Regions from separate parts of the Homo sapiens genome. Here region 1 is linked to region 2. The links are contacts of gene promoters, found by promoter capture Hi-C in human tissues and cell types (Jung and others, 2019). All regions are on one chromosome and are shown on one strand. Each heading gives the region's core, a stretch centred on a gene start or on the middle of the fragment in contact. The rest is flanking DNA. Distances are from core to core; before and after follow the strand shown. Region 1 overlaps FMNL2 (formin like 2). Region 2 holds the start of CACNB4 (calcium voltage-gated channel auxiliary subunit beta 4).

Region 1 (4,286 bases), core at 893-3,392, 480 kb before region 2:
GAGTATAGCCACATTTTAGGAATGCCTGCCCATTTTCCAAGCCTGGTTCTCCAGGCTCCTTGTCAAGTCTGTGCTTTTCTCAACATCTTTTCGATCAACCCTTTCCTCTATGTGTTAGAGTCAGTTTCTGCTTCTTGCAAAGAAGACTCTGAACTAATATAAATATCCAAAGGGTGGTTTTTACTTCCAAATGTATTTTTTTCTGTTTGGTAGTCTCGGGGCTCAAAAATATACACTGCCACACAACTAAGAAAACATCAATTTAGGTAAGATGGTCATATGTCCTTCCATGGGGCTATTAATAAATTAGCCAATAAGAAAAAATAGATGACTCCTTTTTCTCACCCTGGTCTTTATTTCAAGACCATAAATTTTCGTTAAGAGATATTTCAACACAAAACCAGATGTGTTAATCCCCTTAAAAAATTGTTTTTTAAGGAAAAAAGAATTCAAGGAGCACAATGGTTGACTGTTAATGATTTAGTCTTCATCTACTCAATACACTCATGTTTTCAGGCATGTCACAAACCACGCACAGTATAAGCTTACTATCTGTATTCATGTAATTAAGACTCATTTGTCATCATGTACATTGAAGCCATGTATGTGTTTGCTCAGTGACATCAGGCTTAGACCCCAATCCCACCCCCACCATAAGCAAAGCTTTGGGTTAACATTCTTGCCACCATCACATACCATTAAACTAAAGGTGCTCCCTGCCTTCCTAAAACATGCACTTCAGCTATTACAAGATTTGTAGCAAGATTTTTTAAGGAAAAAAAATATAAGATTGGGATTCTAAATATTCATCAAAACATGAGAAAATGATGTAGTCATACATAAAAATCTTTCAACAGCCAAATAATAACTTCCTTTAATTTACATCTGAACTAATTAATTAGTGGTGGTCAAATTAGATAGAATGGATTTATTGGCTCAAGAGGTAGAGGGGGAAAAATCCTGCTACATAAACTACTTAAGATACATGGCCTTTTAAATGTCTTTCTAGCATCTGGTTCCATATTGCGTTAGTACGCTTGGCTATGCTCTAACAGTGATCAAAGCCCAAAGGATCTGGCTACTCTAAAGCATATTACTTTATTTGCAAAAAATAGATGTTGAACTCCCCTACTTCACCCCTCATTCCTGCCAATAAAAACAAAGATAATCCTTTCATCCTTCTTAGGCAGATGAATGGAATCCCAACTTACTAAAAAAGATGAAAAGCTTTAAAAACAATCTTCTCGAAGGCAAAGACTCTTCTTTGGTCCTCCTTCCTGGTATCCTGGTACCTGGTATGGTACTCTCTCTGCCATATGTGGCTCAAAAGGAATTATTCACTGAACAAAACCCTATCTGCACAGGCATGCCAGAATATAATAATGAATATTATTATAAAACCAGAAGATTCCAATGACATTTTGGTTAAAGAGGTTAAAGAATTCACTTTACTATGATGTGAAAAAAAAAAAATTCACTCACGCAAAGATGGGAGAAAAAGAGGAAGGGATTTAAGAGACTTTGAGCTGTGAGCGGCATTGCATGTTTTAGAAAGCAAGATCAACACAGAATAACACCTTTTGCACCTCAAGATTGGATAAATCGGTTGAGGCTCTTCTGACCTATCTATAACAACTAAGTTTGTCGGGGGCATGTTGCTACCTTGTCTTCATTCCCATGGCTATTAGGATAATAATCCATTTGCTTGGTCTGTCTATATGGTTTTTAGACAAGAATAATGCAGGATGGTTGCAGCAGAATAAAAAATTCTAGGCAGCAGTTTCACATGACTAAGCAAAAGGAAACTGCTGAAATAGCTGCAGAAGCTTGGGGCTGATAAGACCCTGAAAAACAGGGTGTGGGCCAAGCTGGCAAAGACAAACTGGGTCCAACATGGTGCTGGATTTGATCCAGGTTTCTCCTAGGACCTTATTCTATGCTCATTCACATATTCAATCATATACCCACCAGTGCCATGACAGTTCCAGAACATCGTTATTTGAGGTAAAAATGGGTAGCACCATAGTTCTGAGAAATCTCCAGCTTCTTCCAGGAATCTCCGTGAATACTCCATCCCTTGGTTAAAGAAATCCATAAAGGTAGCAGCCCCAAACCACCTTGTGTGACTCTCTCAAGCATGCCCACACTCCCCTTTCTTGAGTGTGTACTTTTTGCTTTGCAATAAATCTCCACACTTTCACTATTTTCTAACTCATACTTGAATTCATTCTTGTGAGGATGTCAAGCGCCTAGACACCAGCAGGGTTTGGGGTCCCACCAGCATTTGAGGACCTCCCCTAGCCCACTGCTATCACCTTCTATCAGATGCAAATGCCTATGCCAAGGACAGTACCTGAAGACCTACCATCACTCCTGATTAATTACAGAAATGAGGCCAGTTTTGGTTAAAGCTCTAAGAATTCAATGTCAAAAGTAATTTAGTTCTCATTACTATTGTCCAGGTATTAGACTTAGGATTACATTTTTCTTCAATTAAGCACATACTACACCCTAAATAGCTAAAGCATATATAAGTCTGACACCAAAGAGTTAAAACTCAATTCTGCAAGTATCTGTGGGCCTACTATGCATAAGAAAGGTACTCTATCTTACCTAGGAGAAAAAAATATTATCATTCATCTCATGAATTCCTGGCTTTTATTCTTGTTCTATACAAATATATCTTTAGGATATAATCTGACCTGCAGTATAATCAGATTCCTGTTATAATATGAGTCATTATAACAAGGGCCACTGATAACTATATAGTAAATGTTTCCAATGTGAAAAGTACTCAGCATGCAATATTTTCAAATATGACCTAATGATAAAGATTTGGGCGTTATATGAGCTGCACATACTGTTTCTCTTTCATATTAAACCCATCCACCCAAACATACTTCCTTATTTATAAATGTAAAATTTATATATTTATACATGATATATAAAAACATTCACAGACAAGCATTCGTACATTCTTGTCTCTAAAATCTATTTGTCTTGGAAGCCAGAATATGAATTTAAAGATTCACTATTATTCTTCTTCATTCTCTTGGAAGCTGGATATTTTTTCACTATCTTTGGGGCTCAATAGAAAGAAAAAAAAAGATAATATTTGGTTGTCTCCACAGTTGGCATTTACAAAATGGATAATATCAAAATCTTAAAGAATGGACTAGCAGTAAGGAGGCAATGCAAATAAAGGAGCAAGAGGAGTGTCTGCCCTGTTCACATCTTTGAAGCTTCCCAGCCTATGCAGAGGCTCACAGGCTGGTGTCTAGAACATTTGGCAGCTGGGCAGTAAATCCAATTAAGGAGGTAGGAGGCAGGGGAAATAGCTCCGAAGTCCTGTCTCATTTCAGTATTTCCCTTATTTCCTTCAAGGGATTCACAAACAATAAGGCCACAACTTCAACACATTTCAAGGAAGTTCAGGATCAGGAGCACCAAGTCCTGTTCCTGGCTCTGTCACTTATCTAGCTATGTGACCACAGGTAAACTATGTATTTCAATTTCGCTAAAATCAAGATATTAATATTTGTCTCAAAGATGTTCTTATAGAACCAAATGATGCCATGCATGTAGCTGGTATAGCCCCGGCATATAGTAGGTTCTCAATAAATACTATCAGAGTTTCTAGTTCAGAACCTTTCAGGAAAGAGGAGAGAAAACAGTCCCTCTGTGACCTGGATTTTAATCCAGCTCGGGTCTTAATCCAAAAGCATTTGGAATTAAATGGGACTTCTAGCATAACACACAACTTGGCGAAGGGTCCTATTGTAACCTGGGCTTCCACCTGTTCTCTAAGGACTACTTTGTAATTTCTCACCTCAAAGTAGCCTCTGATGTCAGGCATATACCAGGGGAACAAACAGGTACTCTTCTTGGTCCTACAACACTGCCCACTACCCTGTGGGAAAGCAGCTACTATCTAGGCGGTGATGTTTGGATACACTGGGGCAGGGCCCGCGGCGGTGATGTTTGGATACGCTGGGGCAGGGCCCGCGGCGTCATATTGTCTTTGTGTAATCCCTCCTTTCTTTGTGGTCAGACAGTCTCCGTTTCCAACCATGCTCAACTGTTGCATTATTGTTTGGCTGTGACAAGCCCACTTAAGCTTACACGCTCCCAGAATCAGTGCCAGTATTTGCCAGGTTTTTCATAGCATCCAGCAAAAATAAAGTAACTGTGATGAAAGAGTTCATAAAATTTGCATGGTGGACGATCAAGTGCCAATATCAACCCCAATGAAAACCACATACATGTAACAAAACCGGTTTTCAAAC
Region 2 (3,992 bases), core at 1,213-3,712:
CTTCTTTCTCGATGAGCCAGAAGCAAAGGTGATCAAGGCCCAAGTACACTCAGTGCTGCTGTGGCCAAGGTACAGCCTCCAGGTACAACTGGGCAGAAGAAGGGAGCCCCCACCTCTGCCATACTTGCTTAGAACTTAGTCTCAACAACAGGTAGCTGCGGGGAGGATGACAAATGCTGATGTTTTGTCCCTCCTAGGAAGCTGACCCTCCAACTGGGAGCTGAAGGGTGAGGGAGCCCTGTGTTCTTGGCTGCACCAGTATAGCGTGGAGCCCTCTCTGAGTTGGAAGCATGAAAAGAGTGAGTAGGTCTTGGTTCAAATACCTCAAGCTCACTTTTCTTACTGGGTTTCAGTAGGTTTTCTTGAATAAATGTTCCTTCATTTGTTGTGCACCTTTAGGACCATTTTTAGAAATTTAAATGGTTGCTTATATATAAAACATATAATTTTCACCAGTTTTGCTTTGAGCTGGGTGTACAGGGCTTCTCATGTTGTTATGCCTCTGTGGGTTCTGTTTCAATAACTTAAAGTCAGTGAGAATGTGGACAGTGGAAAACCACACAATTCAAAGTCCAGTGCTCACATAGTAATTTAATATGCACACACGTATCAACTATGAAAATGGCTCAGAACTAAATACGGATTGGGTTGACAGTAACTAAAGTAGGGAGTCCTGCATGGTTAGACCTCCATTCCCCATAAATTCATGGAGTATCTACTATATGGAAGGTATAGGAATAGAAGATAAACCGCTAAAAATTCTGAAAATTAGGAGATTTTCACAAAAACAGAACTAACAAACTAATAAGCTAAGGCAGCCTATTCTAAGTGCCCAGAGAATACATGCTCCAGTTTTTCAGAAGCACAAGAATTATGTGGGACTGGAGTAGTCAGATAGGATTTCTGTGGAGGAAGCGTGAGCTGAGTCCCATTTAGAAGAAAGGTAGGATTCAGCCGGGTGTGTAGGTTGTTGGGAGGGCATATTCCAAGGAGGCATTCCAAAGCAGAAGAGCTCAAATGTGATTGTATTTGGAATACTTGGGTATTGATGACTAGACCTGCCTGCTTGCTGGAAGGTTTGTATAGAGAGATCAAGATGGAGAAATGAGATGGAGAGTGATCAGAAATGCAGGAGAGGCTGAGTTGTTGGACCATGGAGTTTGGACTTTATCTTAGAGAAGAGTGACTTGGGCAAGATATTTTAGGAAAATGGTTTTGCCTGTAGTGTGTAGATGGAATGAAATCTCTGCGTGTGTATGTGTGCATGTGCATACGTGCACATGCACCAGGAAGCCTGGAGGCAAGGACATTAGTTATAAGATTGTTACAGAGGTTTGGATTAAGTGAAGGGATTAGGAATGGAAAGGAAGTGTCTGGTGGATGGTAAGATATAACCAGGACCTCAATAAAGCCAAGCAATTATTAAAACAAGCATGGTAGTTGTGTCCATAAACATAAAGTCCTAGAATGCAAGCTGATTTAGCGATTTGAGATAGTAAGTATATTTTAATTTAAACGGAGTCTCTTTATTTTTGAATTTGCATATACTTTTCTTCCCTCTTCTTATTCCTCTGTCAATACCTCGCACTTATTCTTCCTTTCCGCAATCCCTCTCTTTTAATTTGATCACAAATTAATCTCTTGTATGTATTTACAGGAGGAAACCAATGGCAAACGTTGTGTATGGTTGCAAGGATGAGTTTCTCCCCCTTGAAAATATCCATTCGCATAGAAATGGGAGGCACAGTGACCAACTCTTGCTTCTTAGCAGGTCTAACATGACCTTCAAAACTCCGTAGGACATACTGGTCTTTGGCGGGGCAGCATCTCCCGTCAGACTCAGGCTGGCTGGGTTTCTCACAGCTGCCTGGATGTGTGTGACTCGCAGCTCTAAGGACAGAATTGCCAAAGCAATACAAAAACACGGACGAAAAGCAAGCCACAAAACCCCATGCCTTACACATTAGGCTGATGAGTGAAGTCGCGGAAGGTGGCTCTGCTCTTGCCCTTTTAAAATTCCAGTGCAGCAAACACACACACACACACCCGCTCGGTTCTTCCCATTCCCGCCACACTGCACCAGCTTCCGTCCCCAAGTCCTGATTCATGAACCGTGCCACCTTTGTCTCATTTTAAACTGTGCAGACTATTTTAATCTTGCCACCCCCATCCCAGATTTCCCCCTCCCTTCATCCTCTGGAAGCTCTGATGTAAAGCGCTTGCTAGGTGGGAGAGCGCTTCTCCCAATCCGCTCGGGTAGGCGAGTTTCCGAGAAGCCCCCTCCCCGGGACCCCGCCGCGAGCGCGGGGGAAGCGCCTCGGTCCCTTTAAGGTGCCGCGCTCTCCGAAGTGCGGGCAGGGAGCCTGGGCGCCGGCGCGGGTCCTGGAGCCGGGTGGGGAAGTCCTGCGCCCTCCCCCTCCGTCCGCAGCCCAGCCTCGGGGGCCAGCCCCCTCCGCCCACCGCACACGGGCTGGCCATGCGGCGGCTCTGAACGATGTCCTCCTCCTCCTACGCCAAGAACGGGACCGCGGACGGGCCGCACTCCCCCACCTCGCAGGTACCGCCCCCTCCTCCCCCTTCTCCTCTTCCTCCTCTTCCTTCCTCACACCTCCTCCGCCGCCCTAGCGCGCCCCGCCTTCGTGCCGGGCGTGCGGGGCCCCAGTCCCGGGAGTCGGCGGCCCCGCTCCCCCCACCCCTCCTCCACGTCCCTTTCTCCTCCCGCTCCTCCTCTTTCTCCTCCTTCTCTTCCTCCTCCTCCTCACCCTCCTTCGGGTCTCTGCGCTCCCGCTCCGGAGCCCGCAGCCTCCCCCAGCGGATGCCGGGGACTCGGACCCCGCACCCTGAGAGTCTTTGTTAATGGATGTGGTGGGTGCTTGCGGGCTGCTCTTCTCGAGCATCTTTTCAGCAGTCGAGGCTTGCAGTGGGTGGGTGGGGGTGGGGGCTGTATTTGGGAGTCGCGGAGGAGACTTGGGTGCGGGCTCTAGGGGACCCCAGGGAGCGGGTCCGGAGGCGGACTCCAGCCGGGGGTGGTCGCCCCGCTCTGCGCTGCGGTCCTCACCGGCTTCTCTCTGGCCCCCGTGTGTCGAGTCCAGGTGGCCCGAGGCACCACAACCCGGAGGAGCAGGTTGAAAAGATCCGATGGCAGCACCACTTCGACCAGCTTCATCCTCAGACAGGTATGAGAAGGAGGCGGGAGACCAGGATGGGGAGGAGGCCGAGCGCGCGGCGCGGGGGTCCTGGAGCCGGCCGTGGCCCACACGTGCGGGAGCTGCGGGTCAAGCCCGCGCGCGTCTCTTCCCGGCCTCGGCCGGTGCTCGGGCTCAGTCCCTCTCCCTCTAGCCTGGGCTCTTGACGTCTTCGCGTCCCGGCGTCTCCGCACCGCCCCGGGAAGTTAGTTTGTGCATGTGTGTGGACAGTTCGGTGGGGACCTGGCTTAAGTCAGGGACGTTGAATTTAAGAGCTGGAAATATGTCTGGTTGTATCTTTGGTGCGTGGAGAAATGTCTTTAATTCGTATAACTCGACCTAGAGTAACCAGACCCCTCGGGGCCGGGGACCTGGTTTGATTCGAGTTGAGATTTAGTGGTTTCTTCTGTTTTGTCCTAATTTGAATACTCTTATCTGTCTGGATCTTGGGAGAGATCGTCAAGCTCCGGTCAAAAGAAAGACACTGAGCAGAAAGTTTACTCTCACTTTAGGACCGCTTCTTGGATTCGCTTAGTTAGGGAAAGACAGCTGTATCTGGTTAAATAGGAATTAACGAAGGCCAGCACTCAGCTCCGGGTCTGGGTGCGCCTTCACTTCGTGTTTGTTTTCTTAGTGCTTGCTTTCTCCTGCGTGGTTCTAGTGCGAATTGTCTGTGCTCGGGATCTCCGGATCGCTGGTAATGCTCAATGCTTAGGTGCCTTTCACCTTGGCACAGGAAATTGGTCCTCAGTTTTCCAACTGTCCATGTGCTGTTAATGAAACCACCCCTGGCTGCTGGGTGCTAGA

Evidence for each region. Contacts are between HindIII fragments. The study calls those that stand out against the background at their distance.
Region 1: a fragment that was not itself captured here is called in contact with the fragment with the promoter of CACNB4 in region 2 in 2 of the 25 tissues and cell types used here (adrenal gland and aorta).

Annotation. Positions count from the first base shown.
Region 1 is chr2:152,581,316-152,585,601 of GRCh38, reverse strand. The region is part of intron 9 of FMNL2 (formin like 2); the gene reads right to left. Among named protein-coding and RNA genes, the nearest start is that of PRPF40A, 130 kb to the left of the region's middle. The HindIII fragment of the contact is 3,076 bases long and covers 605-3,680 here.
Region 2 is chr2:152,097,514-152,101,505 of GRCh38, reverse strand. It overlaps CACNB4 (calcium voltage-gated channel auxiliary subunit beta 4), which reads left to right and starts at 2,462. Exons shown (of 14, transcript NM_000726.5): 1 at 2,462-2,557; 2 at 3,093-3,176. The coding sequence starts at 2,495. RefSeq lists a silencer at 2,264-2,553. The HindIII fragment of the contact is 13,270 bases long and covers 1-3,992 here.